Linked DNA regions of Homo sapiens: all the other regions are linked to region 1. The links are contacts of gene promoters, found by promoter capture Hi-C in blood cells and fetal thymus (Javierre and others, 2016). All regions are on one chromosome and are shown on one strand. Each heading gives the region's core, a stretch centred on a gene start or on the middle of the fragment in contact. The rest is flanking DNA. Distances are from core to core; before and after follow the strand shown.

Region 1 (4,700 bases), core at 67-2,566:
GCTTTTCTTTGAGTTGCCTTTTGTGCTTGAAAGTATAATAAATGGGATATCATCTTTACTCTTGCCATAATGCTAAGACGCAAATATTTGAATTCTGAATTGCAGGCCAGAGGAAGCAGAAACTTCCCTATGGAGAGAGATGGCGGAGTTTGCCATTGAGTTCTCTCTCCTTGCTTAAAAGATCCAAGCTGTGCTTTTTGAAGGCTTCAGACTGCAGCCTGAGTTCATCGTAGGCCTTCTGGATCCCATCTACTTTGCGCTGAAGCTCCCTGACTCTCAAGTTGCTGTCCACAGCCACTGCCTCTTGCTCAAACCGCTCCAGCGCATGCTTCCTGTCTTCATTTGCTATCTCCAACTTTTCCTCAAGCTGGCAGATCTCTGCCTGTTTGTTCTGAAGCACTTTGCCCCTTTCAATGGACAGCTGCAGCAACTCCTCTTTCTCTCTAGTGACGGTCTGCAGCCTGGCCTGCAGCTCCTGGCTCAGGCTGCTGTGTGTCTCCTCTGCCTTAGCTATCTGCTCCACAGCCTGCTGGTGCTGCTGCTTGAGGGTCTGCAGCTGGCTGCGCAGCTGTTCTGTCTCCTTGGTGTGGGTGCAGGCCTGCTGGCTCTGTAGCTCCAGCAGCTCCTTCTCGCGCGCCTGTGCCTGGCAGGCATCCTGAGCACACCTCTCCTTCAGCGTTTCTAGCTCCCCAGTGAGGGCCTCACACCGGACTGTGAGCTGTAATACTTTCGCCTCCTCATCCTTCAGAGCCTGGCTGAAGAGGCTGCTATTCTCCAGCCTCAGCTTCTCATTCTCCTCCCTCAGCTTGATGTTCTCACTCTTGTATTCATCCTTGAAGCGGAGCATCAACTCGTGGTTGGCTGCTAGGGTCATAAAGCGTTCCTCTAGTTTCCGACTGTACTCACCCTGGGCCTTGAGCTTCTCAGCCTCCTGCATCATCTTCTCCTCCAGCTCTGCATTGAGCAGCTCTAGGATCTGGCAGCGCTCCAGGGCCTCATCTGACCTCCGCTTCAGGATGCAGATGAGCTGGGACTGCTCTTCAATGCGGGAGCGAAGCATAGCCTTCTCGCTCCTCTCCTCCTCTGACAGTCCCCGGAGGTTTGCCAAGGCTTCCCTCAGACCGTCCAGTTCCTTAAACTCCGTCTCCTCTTCCTGGTTGTTCAGTTTTTCATTTTGCTTCTCTAAGCGTTCTTCAGGGGGCGGGGTGTCCATCCTGGGAGCCTGCTGTTTCTGGAGCATAGGCGCTCTCATCCACTAAGGGCTGACTACAGTCTTTTCCCCTCAGATTTCAAACGCTGCAGGGTGTTGCTAGGGACTCTTGGCACTCCCCAGCAGTTGGTTTTTCCAGTAAGGAGCCCTGTAATTGGTGGACAGGTCTTCAGAATGCTATGAAGTAACAACAGGGGAATCTGGGGGAGTCCAGAGCCAATCTGGTCGGGTTACTTTTGCCTTTCTAACCAATCACAGCTCTCAGTTGTCAACTGTCTCAGTGTCTGGCCTGTACAGCACAGAGATGCCAACCCCACTCAATCTCCAGCCAGCATCAGGGGAGGAAGCCTGACTCCACCTAATTTCTGGTAGTAGTAAACAAATGAAGCAGGCAATGATATATTTATCCTCCCTCTCCCCTCTTCAGTTATCGTTTGAATAAATTACTGTTTGTGGAAACATGGTTGGCTCCTCAAAAAATTTCAGTCTATGAATACAAAGTAGTAGTGGTATTCTGAGAGCCAGGACCCTAAAAGCCTGCATATCTGCACCCGTGATGTTTGGCACAGCTCCCTTTTGGTATTTAAGTATTAAAATAGAAAACACCAGTGAAATTTCTTTTGTTGTTCTTAGCATTGTCCCCACCTGGGCATAAATACTCTTTATTAGATATTTAACACCCCCTGTTTTTACCCATTAGCAAAATAAGGTTACAGAAAGAAGCTTAGTGAACCACACAGATAAACATTAAAACAGAAAAAATAAGATTCAAATGAAGCTTGCCATTATATGCCAAAGTCAACTCCTGATAGATTAGTTAAATGTAAACAGAAACTAGAAGAAAATGAAGGTAAACATCAAATCTCTGGGGCTAGGAAGGATTTTTTTTTTATCTTAAACATTATGTAAGATCAGAAAGGGAAAGCTTACTCAAAAAGTTATGTATAATTTTTTAAATTATGTGACTTCTGAGGTCTCTCCAGCCCCTTCTTCCACTGGATTTTCTTGACATTTTACTCCTCAAACCCAAATATTGAAGCCAAACCCAAATCCACTAACCAGCTCTCTCGCCCTATCTTTAGGTGTTCCTCTACTTGGAATGCCTTTCCTACTTTGTCCCTTGTCACTCTAGTAAAGCTTTTTATTCTTAGTTAAGAATCGTCTCTGAAGCCTATTCCTGGCCCCTACATGTCCAATTGGTCACTCACATCTTTTAGTGCATCCGCTATAGCTATTTGTACTTCTGGTGGAGGATGTGAAAATTTTATTGCAGTCACTGTTTATCTGCCAGCTTCCCTCTGTTAGACTGTAAGATCCTTAAGGGCAGGGACTGTGTCTATTTCATCCTTGATGATTAGACTAGTGCCTGGCACATGGGGGAGATTCAGATAAATGTGTATTAAGTGGATGTTGAAGGTAAAAATCAAATTGAGAAAAATATCCCTAATATGACAGACACTACTTTTTTTTTTTTTTTTTTTTTTTTTTTGAGACAGAGTCTCCCTCCATCGCCCAGGCTGGAGTGCAGTGGTACGATCTCGATTCACTGCAACCTCCGCCTCCCGGGCTCAAGCAATTCTCCTGCCTCAGTCTCCTGAGTAGCTGGGATTACAATTACATACAACCACACCTGGCTAATTTTTGTATTTTTAGTAGAGACGGAGTTTAACCATGTTGGTCAAGCTGGTCTTGAACTCCTGACCTTAAATGATCCACCCGCCTCAGCCTCCCAAAGTGCTGAGATTACAGGCATGAGCCATCGCACCCAGCCCAGACACTACCTTTTTTAAATAAATATTTTATACATATCAACGAAACATTAACATCTAAAAAATAAACAATTAAATTCACAAAAATGGCCAAGAACTGAACGTCTACAGTGATCCAATAAATACAAGTTAAAATTAGACATAATTTCGGCCGGGTGTGGTGGCTCACGCCTGTAATCCCAGCACTTTGGGAGGCCGAGGCAGGCGGATCACGAGGTCAGGACATTGAGACCATCCTGGCTAACACGGTGAAACTCCGTCTCTACCAAAAAAATACAAAAAATTAGCCAGGCGTGGTGGCAGGCGCCTGTAGTCCCAGCTACTCAGGAGGCTGAGGCAGGACAATGGCGTGAACCCGGGAGGCGGAGCTTGCAGTGAGCCGAGATCGCGCCACTGCACTCCAGCCTGGGCAACAAAGCGAGACTCCGTCTCAAAAAAAAAAAAAAAAAAAAAAAGATATAATTTCACGTATCAAATTAGTCAAAAAATTTTCTCTTAAGACAAGCCAGGACTAGAAAGGAGTATTGAAATAGGCACTCTCTTAAACTGTTGGTGAAAGTCAGTTGACAGTAGGTACTGAGAAATTAAGATATTTTTATGGCTTCCGAACTAGTAATTCTTCTGCGGAGATCTTTGCTTAGGAAATAATCTGAAAGAAAACATTTTGCTCAAAACTTTTCATTGTAGTGTGGTTTGTAACAACTAAAAGTTGGAAACCCAAGTTTTCAAAAAAAAAAGGGAATGGTTACAAAAATTATGATATATTCATACAAAAAATATTGTACAGCCACTAGAACTTATTACATTTATAGGTAATTTTTAATAGCATGGAAAAGTCTTATGTTAGAAATACAACTGAAAAAGGCAAAATACAAAACTTAAAATTCAGATGATTTCAATCCTGTGAAAATTAAGGGTAGGGAAAAGAGTTGACTATTCTTGTGGTCACAGTTTCTGGTGATCAGATTTACTATCTCCCAAGTCATGATGATAAGGAAAAACCCTGGGTGTCATTATAGATATGAGATGAATTTTTAAATGCTTCAGATTTCACTGGGAGCGAAACAAATCTGAAAGAAGAGTTTCAGGTTCTTCCCTCACTGTCAAAGATCAAGGTCTCATGTTTCAAATCCTGAATTTCTTGTCTATATATGGAAACCAAGATTGAAGACTGGGGAAATTTCCTAAGCTGAAATTTTAACAACTACATAAACAGTAGGATATTGAAGTTTTGTGAAAGTGAATTCCAAAGACTTTAAAAATGTGAATTAAACTTATTTGTAATTTTCCCACATTTCTCTTGTCCTTTTCCTTAAATTTCAAGCTTCATATGCGTAAATGGAGTTCGTCTAGTTATTTTCAAGGCAAATGACTAGAAAATTAGAATGGTCCTCTTAAATAAAAGGGTCTTACAAACATTGAAAATTTTATTTGTTGATTATATGGTTGTCTGATATCATAAAGTGAATTCACAAAATATATTTCCTGAAAGGAGGAAAAGAATTCAGAAAAATACGGAAAAAAGATACATACACATTTGTTTTTTTACCAGTCAGGGTCTCTGTTGCCCAAGCTGGAGTGCAGTAGTGTCATCATAGCTCACTGCAGTCTTGAATTCCTGGGCTCAAGCAATCTTCCTGCCTCAGCCTCCCAAGCAGCTAGGACTACAGGCATGTACCACCATGTTCAGCTAAATTTTCCACATTTGAAAAAGCTTATAT
Region 2 (4,700 bases), core at 1,317-3,816, 120 kb after region 1:
AGAAGAAAAGCAGGTGCTCGGCATAAACCATATTGCTTGCACAAACAGTTTAGGCACAGTGAGCTACTCAATCATTTAGATTTGTGGGAATCCTCCTGAAATCCAAGTTCCCTAATGCCAGCCAAAGGCCAACTTGCAAGCAGGCCTTTCTATGGACAGGCAGTTTCACACCCACTATGTTAATTCTTTTCTGCACACATGAGAATAAAAAGCCAAATATCTAATTAATTGATAACTGCCCATTGACCACTAAATTCTTAAAGCCCATCAATGTACTAAAAACCTTAAAAAGACAGGGAACATAACTTAGCACTTCAAAATATATTCATTTAACACACTTGTACTATCTCAGCCTTCTGGGCTTTGGGCATTAAGGAAATAGTAAGTCCCTTTAGTCCCAGCGCTCTAAGAACTTTTGGAACAAAAGGGAAGATAAGATGAGGACATAAAGAATGATAACACACAGTGGTATGTGATGATGGCCATAAAAGAGGTATAAGCCGAACACTAAACCAGTTAGAGGAGGGAAAGAAAACTTCCTGCCATGATGAACCAGGAAGATTTCAGGAAGAATTAGCATAGAGCTGCAGTTTTAAGAACAGCTAGGATTTCAGAGTTAGAAACAGGGTTAGGAAGAGCTCAACAAAAGGGACTAAAAGTCCATAAAAAGCATCCAATCTCCTTAATAACATGTACTACACTCTTCATGATCAGCCCACTACCTACTTCACTGGCCTCAGCTCCTGCCAGCCTTACCTTGAACATGAAACCATGCTTGCCATGCTATTTCCCAGCCTTTTGACCTTCTGATTCTTATTCACCCAGATCGCCTCTCAAATGCCACCTCTTCCAGGAAGCCCTACCTTGGCACTTGATCTCCCTTCCCTCTTACCACCCCACCTCCTTCCTCTGTGCTCACATCTGACTATGAACATCACACTGAGTGGTAATTACAGATATCTATTTTCCCCACTGGACTCTGAGCCTAAAACAATTTGGCACACAAACATAGAAAACACTCAGTGAGTATCTATCAAATAAATTAACTCTTGCCTCTAAATCTGATATTCTTCCCACTACAGCATGCTGACCCTTTTATCAACAAATGTTCACTGTTTAATAATAGTTTAAAGAGAATAGCAAGAGATTTTCTGTAAAGATCAATCATACCATACTTAAGTATTAAACTAAGCTCACACCCTTGGTCACTGCATCTACAGGTAGTGATGCACACAAACACACCCTCAAGGACCTAACCATTCCCACACACAGTTCATCAGTTTTGGTGCTTTGGTCTCAAAGTAAAGAGACCAAACCAGAATCTATCAAAGGACTAGACTGAGACTTGACTAACACAGTGAAAGGGCTTGGGGATTGGCACATGAAAGAGTCCAGGTTCAAAGGTCTAGTATTCCAAAACCCCAATGTAGGATGTCTCCAAGAGTTTCCTGGGTTTCTGCCGCCCAGGCTGGAGTTCAGCAGCACAATCATGGCTCACTGCACCCTTGATATCCCAGGCTCAAGTGATCCTCCCACTTCAGCCTCCTGAGTAGCTGGGACTACAGGTGTGCACCAACATGCCCTGCTAATTTTTTTCTATTTTTCTGTAGAGATGGGGTCTTGCTATGTTGCTCAGGCTGGTCTCAAACTCCTGGGTTCAAGCAATCCTCCCACCTCAGCCTCCCAAACTGCTGAGATTACAGGAATGAGCCACTATGCCTGGCCCCCAGGAATTTAAAAGGTACAACTTACTCCCTATGCACTGAATGTCAGCCCAAGACTTGCTTTTAGTTCCTGGCTGCTGAGAGAGTGGACTTGGAAAAAGTATGCCAGAGAAGGAAAAAAACAAACACATCCACTCCCTCCTCACTTCCTCACACACCAAGCAAATACCTGTGCTCAGTTCCACAACAGGGTCACATCTGTCCCCTGCAGAATCTGACCGGTAGAGCCACGTCTCCTCCACACCCTTGGCTCCTGGCCACACATTATTAATAGTTCAAGTGCAGATGCAGGTGACTGTCTTCACATTGAGGCACCTCTAGTAACCAAGGCTAATCTCCCCAGTGGCTTTCCCCAAGGAACCCAGGTAATGTCGGGTTTTCCCTCCAGCATAGATAAAGCAGGCAACTATCCGGAAAACATAAACACAGGGCTAGAAACACAGAAACACACATCTGTGTGTACCTGGGTCTGATCCTGACTGCTTAGGGAGAAGGGCCACCTAGCTTCTTGCCATTTCCCATAGATGATAGTTTTGTAGTCTGAGCCTCTCTGCTCCTCCCTCTAAGAAACTCAACAGCTGCTAACCACAATAGTGCATGCTAAGCACAAGAAATTCTACAAAGCACTAACCAAATTCAGCATGCATTAGGTATCTACTATCCCTAGAACCTTAAACTCAATTTTGGAAATACAAAAAGGGGCCTTAAACTTTTTTTTTCTGGATTCAAGCTTCAATCATTTTGCCAGAAACACACCTGGTCCTTTGTTGAAAAGTGGTAAACATGCTTAACTCAAGGTAAGACATATTTATATTTTTGGAACAATTTGGCTCCAATGTGATCCAGTCCATAAATTAGCATATGGAGTCACCATTTTCCAACACATTATGTACTCTCCTATAGAAGTCTTGAATAGCAGCACCATCTCTACAAGTACCATTACCTTTTACCAAAAAAGCTTTAATATATGTTATCTCCTCTGTACACACAAGTGCAAACAAGTATGCCAATCAACCCCAAACCCATCTTTCATACTGTGAGCAGTGTTATTATCCTAAAGAGAAATTTCATTATCTCACTTACAATATTGAGAAACTTCAAAGATAAAGGGCAGCCTCCAAGATAAAGGGTCAGATTGTAGCCTCATTTCACCTTTGGTCTTTGGTGAAACTCCACTACATTAGCAGCGCCACCAACCATAATTTACCTGTCCTGTGTGCCAACTCAGTAGTCTCTTCCCCGTTCTTTTTTTTTTTTTTTTCAGATGGAGTCTTACACTGTCGCTGGAGTGCAATGGCGCGATCTCGGCTCACTGCAAACTCCACCTCCCAGGTTCAAGCGATACTCCTGCCTCAGCCTCCAGAGTAGCTGGGATTACAGGCACCCACCACCATGCCCGGCTAAGTTTTTGTATTTTTAGTAGAGATGGGGTTTTACTATGTTAGCCAGGCTGGTCTTGAACTCATGACCTTGTGATCCACACGCCTCAGGCTCCCAAAGTGCTGGGAATACAGGCATGGGCCACCGTGCCTGGCCTCCCCATTCTCCTGGTATCCCTTCTCTCCCTGCCTCCATGGCTTTGAACTTGAAACATCCTTCAACGTTTCCTCCCCACCACACTCTCTTTTCTTCTTTTTCTTTTCTTTTTTTTTTTTTTTTTGTGAGCCGGAGCCTTGCTCTGTCACCCAGGCTGGAGTGCAGTGGCATGATCTCAGCTCACTGCAACCTCTGCCTCCCAGGTTCAAGCAATTCTCCTGCCTCAGCCTCCCAAGTAGCTGGAATTACAGGTGCCCACCACCAGGCCCAGCCTCCCAAAGTGCTAGGATTACAGGCATGAGCCAATGCACCCAGCCCTCAGTCTCTTCTTAACCTAGCAAACTCCTACTCAGCCATAGGTCTAGCTTATCTGTCACCTTCCTACTTTCCCTGGCAGTTGCTCTCTCAGCAATCTCACAATAAGCTGTATGCATTTCTAACTAGAACACTTACCACACTGTACTGTAAGTACTACTTCACCATTGTCACCTTCAATAGCCAAGAGGAAGGGAAGGAAAGAGAAGGAAAGAGAGGAAAGAAAGAGAAGGGAAGAGAGAAAGGAAAGGAAGAAAAGGAAAATGAATAGAACTGACATTTATTGAATAGTGACTCTATGCAAGACACAAAGTCAGAGGCTTTAATATATTTATTACCCCATCTTGTGAGAAAATGAATGCAATTTTTGCAGAAAAGGAAGTTGAGAGTCCTATCCCAAAGAAACTCAAAAGCTGCTAACCACAGTTAAATTAGTTGCTTTATAACACAACTAGTAAGTGCATTCATGTTTAAATTCAAGCTTATCTTATTCCAAAGCCAAGTTTATTTCCACTACAAAGTGGCCTCTATGGGAAACATGGACACTAGCCAGAAACATCTTCTTAACCATGACCCCTCTCCCATCACCTTGTTGGCCACTATGCTTCATAACTCTGGCTTCTGACCTTCCACCTATGATTGCACCTCAAAATCATCTGCTATAACCATCAGATGGCAAGGTGTTGCTAGGAATCTGGCAAGAACACAGTGAATACATTTGCAGAAAGGTAGTATGATACTATTTCAAAAAGGTTCAAGAATGCATATTATAAAACTGTAAAAATGTGTCATATCTAAGTGGTCCTGCTAGGACAACTCATATAAAAATTCTTTATCTTTATAAAATCCTCATATCATGCACAACATGAAAATCAACTTCATTTCTACTCAAGTTCTTCAGTATATTCCCTCTCACTTATCAAGTTGTGATGCCCCAAAATAAACTGTAATTAAGGTCTTCTTGCCAGTTCTCCATAGTATTTCAGTTGCTCTAGTCCTGGGTGGTGCTGCTTCATAACTGCAGGAATAAGTGGCTGACTCCTTAGGCCATGGAGCGCTGGGAGAACCCAGTTGTTTTTCCTGGAAGATTATGTTAAGCCCATCATTACATCTCTATGGTAACAG
Region 3 (4,700 bases), core at 1,207-3,706, 72 kb after region 1:
GACAAGACTCAGCAGCTTGGAATCCCAGGTGCCAAGAAAAGATAGAAGGGAGGGAGGAAATGAAAGGAGGCTTTCTCCTCGTAAGCTGACTATCTAGAGGGGCAGAATTGCAGACCATAAATAACACCTCCTGAGCAGAAGGAATCAAAGGTACTTGCACCTCTCCAAAATGCAGGGGCCCACATCCTGAGGTAGAAAGAGAGACTCAGTGCAGTCCCAGCTCTACTGCTTTCTAAGTCCTTCCCCCAATCTTTTCTTTTGGGAGGGTAAAGGAAATACCATTTCCCCTTATGCTTAAAGAATCAATATTTTCTCTATGCTCCCCCACCTCCTGCCCTTACTCCTCAATGGTTGCAATAGTCCCTGCTTTGCCAAATGTCAGGGTTGCTGTGAAGAACATAAGAGGATAACATTCATAAAAGGGCTTTATAAACTGTCAATGGGTAGAGGATTAATGCTACCAAGAGGCTCTAATGCCTGGGTTAGTGACAATCCTTCACCTCTCCTGGGGACACTGTTTAAGGCACACCATTTGCGGAGAAGGCACAGCAGAGCCCCATCCAGGTGTGCATTGCAAGGGACCTTTGAGGAACAGCATGATCCCCACTACCTACAGCCACTGCTTGTCATCATAGCTCAGTGTCCTACTTCACACCATGACAGCCAGCCCCTTCCTCCATTGCCAGGTCCTGGGATGGCCTGTCTGTTATTGTTTTCTCAGGGAGAGGAGGTGGAGTTAACAAATGAGTACCTAAGACTGGGATTTGATTCTCACTTCTGACACCTACCAGTTGTGTGATATTGGGCGAGTCACCTGACTTGTCTCAAAGTCAACTTCCTGACACATCAAATGGGGTAATTATATCCCACTCCACCCACCAACCGCAAAAGAGTATGTGAGCTCATAAAAAATAATGGGCATGTTAAGCCCTTTGCAACTTGTTAAATACTGTCTATATAGAAGTTATTTTAGTAGTCATAATCAGACATTCTGTAGTGGTTGAAGTGAATTCTAGCATGTTCTTTTATAAATCATCCACGTTAAATCAGTGTCAAGATACGGAAATGGTAAAAATAAAGCCATTATTCATGGTCCTGTGTCCCAGGAAGTAAGAACATATCTTATGCTCCTTTTGGATAACTCCTGGAGCGAGAATCATAAAATTAATAATACTAACTTACATTCAGGAAGCCTGTCGCTGCCTTCAAAGCCCAAGATTACACAGGCAGTAAATGGCAGGGCCTGGACAAAGTCAAGTTCTTCAGCATCCTGGCCTAGTGCTTGTTTGACAACAAAGGTGAATGAAAGTGGCAGGAATGTTGACATGGAACATTTGGGTTCCACCCAACAAGAATAGTGTATCAAAGTTGCCACTCCTCTTTATGGGACCCAAGACAAATGAAAAATTGGCTCAGAGAATACTTTCAGTTGCCATTAAAACCAATTCCAACATTTCTGAAAGCATGCAGAAATGTGAGCTAGTTTAATTTATTTTCTTTTCAAAATTCTAAAAATTTTTTAAAATTCTAATTTGGTTCATGATTCAGTTAAAAAAAAGTAGATCCAGTTTTTTTAAGTGGATAGAAATACACACACACACACAAATGTAGATGTATGTGGTTGTATACATTTCATTTTTATCTCAGTATTTAATAAGTTAAAGGAATTTAGTTAGGTTTTTAATCAAGACCCTATTTCTGGTAGGAGTCCAGTAGGATAAATTAAGAGGCACCAAGAGGAAAAATGTTTTGTCCAGGAAGTAAACCTAAAATTGGAATCCATAAATTCAGTCTTCGAGTCAGAACTACCACTTATAGTTGAAAAAAACCCCAGTGTCCTATTTTCGTACAGACTGCCTCTTCCTTCCCTCATGCCCAAGGCTTCTCTGGCCTCTTACCTGACTCTCTCTTCTTCGGCCCTCTTCAGAGCAGCATCCCGCTGCAAAACCTTCATGATGGCCTCTTGTTCCTCTTCAGTCAGGAAGCTTAAGTCAATCATTTTGAAAAGTGCATGCAAAAATAATAGCAACAAATGTGGCTCAAAATTCTCAGGGCTGAACAACTAAGACTGCAACCAGGAAGATTAAAACACACAAAAATGAAATATCTTGTTCAGTTCTGCATCAAAGTCTTATTTTGGCTCAGCAAAAGTTTAGGGCAGCTGATAGCAAGATCCTAAGTGCTCTTTCCCATGAGGAAGTCCTGGTCTGTGGGATAGTGTCGAGAAGAGGCTCTCAGAAGGATGCTGTATTCCTTGCCAAACAGGTCGCTTGTTCCTATGGTGGCTTCCAGCACACTCACTCTCTGGTCCAGTCTTAGACACAGTTTATTCTCTCTCTGCACCTGTCGTCAATTCATAAGAGGCAGCAGCATCAGAGCATCACCTACCTGGGGAATCATGAGACAGCAAACACCAGACAGTGAGAGGCAGTTCCTATAAGCACTACTCATTACTACAAGATTTTTAAATGGCCATGCGAGATGGTCTCTGAGATCAAGGAAACCAGTTCAGCCAGCTTCCTGAGCAAATGGTAAATGGGTCATGAAACATGCTTCAACCCTATTCCAGACGGCCAAGATGGAGAACCCACAAAAATGCCTGTCAGTGTTTAACGATCCACCTGAGTAAAGGATGGTTGCAAAAATGAACTGGTTCTCTCTCTGCAAACTCTGGGGATGCTAGGCTAAAAAGTCATGTTAAAGGTCAGTAAGATCAGGGATATGTGATTCCAGTGGTCAAGCAAGAATCTAGAAATAAAAATTTTAAATGCTCACCTCTTCACAAGTAAGAATATTCCACTGTACTATATATGTGCTCCATATTAACAGGAGAACTAGTATTAGATAGAGATAGTTTGCAGAAGAGTGAGAATTGTTATTCTTCATCCAGTCTCACTGCTAACCTTTGCTGGACCTAGAGGAACCTAACAAGCTTGTCTACTTTCATTTCTCAGGGGAAAAACACCTACCTGTGTGTGTATATAAACTGGAGGAAAGGAAGAGGCAGAGTTTCAAAACACCTCACCATCCAAAGTGAGGATTTTTCAGTTGCACAATGTGCAAGAATCCTATTTTCTTTGAGGCATCTTCAATACATATGTAATGGGAAGGAAGTGAGAAGTGAAGAATGACACAGCCCTACAGAAATTCGGAGGTGATCCACTCAAGGTTGGGGCACTTTTAACAAGTGCAGTGCTGAACATACACACTAAAAACCTTTAGTAAATTTTAAAGCAGGCTGGGTGCAGTGGTTCATGCCTGTAATCCTAGCACTTTGGGAGGCCAAGGTGGGTGGATCACCTGAGGTCAGGAGTTCGAGACCAGCCTGACCAACATGGTGAAACCCCGTCTCTACTAAAAAATACAAAAATTAGCTGGGTGTGGTGACACACGCCTGTAATCCCAGCTACTCAGGAGGCTGAGGCAGGAGAATCTCTTGAACCCGGGAGGCGGAGGTTGCAGTGAGCCGGGATCACACCACTGCACTCCAGCCTGGGTGACAGAGTGAGACTCCTTATCAAAAAAAAAAAAAAAGAAAGAAAAAAAAATTTTAAAGCAGCCCCACTTAAGAATAAAACAGTATGTACATTAGTGAATAAAATTTATAAAAATTAATTACTTGAAAAACAGAATTACTGGGAAGTTATCCTTCTACCACTTACTAGCTATAAGTCATTGGGCAAGTTACCGACCACTGTGAAGCTGTTTTCTCATTTGTGCTTGACATTAGGATGTCCCTCACAGATTGTAAGGATTAAATGAAATAATGAATATAAAAAGAGCACATGTCTTGCATTCTGTACCAAAAATAGCTACTAAAACTATATTCTAGCTTCCGCTCTGAGTTCACACTTTTTTTCCATCCAGCTGAATAAGACTATACTTAGTAATATATTTCTCTTTTGTATTATGTCTCTTTCTGATCTCCCCCCATGAAGTTTGGGCTTCATTGACAGGGAATCTAATGACCTTTGTTTTAATTTCCTCTAGCTCTCTGCATACTGTCCACAGTAATTACTCAAATAAATATTAAGACATTACTTCATTTTCTTTTTAATTTGCATGTGCTTGCATATGCTACTACCTGCTTGTTCATCTTGAAAACTACTTACCCTTCAAGACAAATCAAAGTTACCACCTCCATGAAGCCTTCCATAACTTCCATACCCCAAGTTAAAGTTGCAGCAGATTCAATGATTATTCCTAACTCTTCATTTCCTCCCTGTAACAGAACTATACTATCATGTTCCCACCAGAGTAAGCAAAGAATTCATCCCTATCCTCCTAATGTTGGGCTTGGCCTGTGACTCGCTTTGGCCAATGGAATGTTAGCAAATGTGATGCAAGCATAGGCTGTAAATGTGCTTTTGTGGTTTGATCTGGCTTCTTGTATTCCTGCCACATGCCATGAGAAGAGCTTGTCCCAGTTATTCATTGCCTCTTCATCCTGGGTTCCAGAAAGAGATAAAAGGACAGACCTGAACCTGACCTCCCTGAAGCAGGTATCCCTGCTGACCTATAGATATAAAAGAAAAAACTAAGTATTTGTTGTTGGAAGCCACTGAGGTTTGGGAGTTGTTATACGATACTCCCGCAGCAGGAACCTGCTAATACAAACACTTTCTCCTCCAAATACACATCCACTGCTGTGATGATCTACTCTCAGTCTCTCTTGATTGTGAGTCTCTGAATGTGAACAA

The links. The method cuts DNA at HindIII sites, captures the fragments that hold promoters and counts their contacts. A CHiCAGO score of 5 or more calls a contact.
Region 2: a fragment that was not itself captured here is called in contact with the fragment with the promoter of CCDC89 in region 1 in 6 of 17 cell types (total CD8 T cells, naive CD4 T cells, non-activated CD4 T cells and 3 more); the score reaches 9.9 in total CD8 T cells.
Region 3: a contact is called between a fragment that was not itself captured here and the fragment with the promoter of CCDC89 in region 1, in 2 of 17 cell types (naive CD4 T cells and total CD8 T cells). The highest score is 6.1, in naive CD4 T cells.

Annotation. Positions count from the first base shown.
Region 1 is chr11:85,684,879-85,689,578 of GRCh38, forward strand. It overlaps CCDC89 (coiled-coil domain containing 89), which reads right to left and starts at 1,317. Exons shown (of 1, transcript NM_152723.3): 1 at 1-1,317. The coding sequence starts at 1,252. The coding sequence ends at 128. RefSeq lists enhancers at 112-613, 614-1,113. The HindIII fragment of the contact is 2,434 bases long and covers 1-1,931 here.
Region 2 is chr11:85,798,854-85,803,553 of GRCh38, forward strand. All of the region lies in intron 1 of SYTL2 (synaptotagmin like 2), which reads right to left. Among named protein-coding and RNA genes, the nearest start is that of SYTL2, 9.9 kb to the right of the region's middle. The HindIII fragment of the contact is 228 bases long and covers 2,453-2,680 here.
Region 3 is chr11:85,755,727-85,760,426 of GRCh38, forward strand. SYTL2 (synaptotagmin like 2) reads right to left here. Exons shown (of 20, transcript NM_206927.4): 2 at 1,899-2,388. The coding sequence starts at 1,999. Among named protein-coding and RNA genes, the nearest start is that of SYTL2, 53 kb to the right of the region's middle. The HindIII fragment of the contact is 947 bases long and covers 1,984-2,930 here.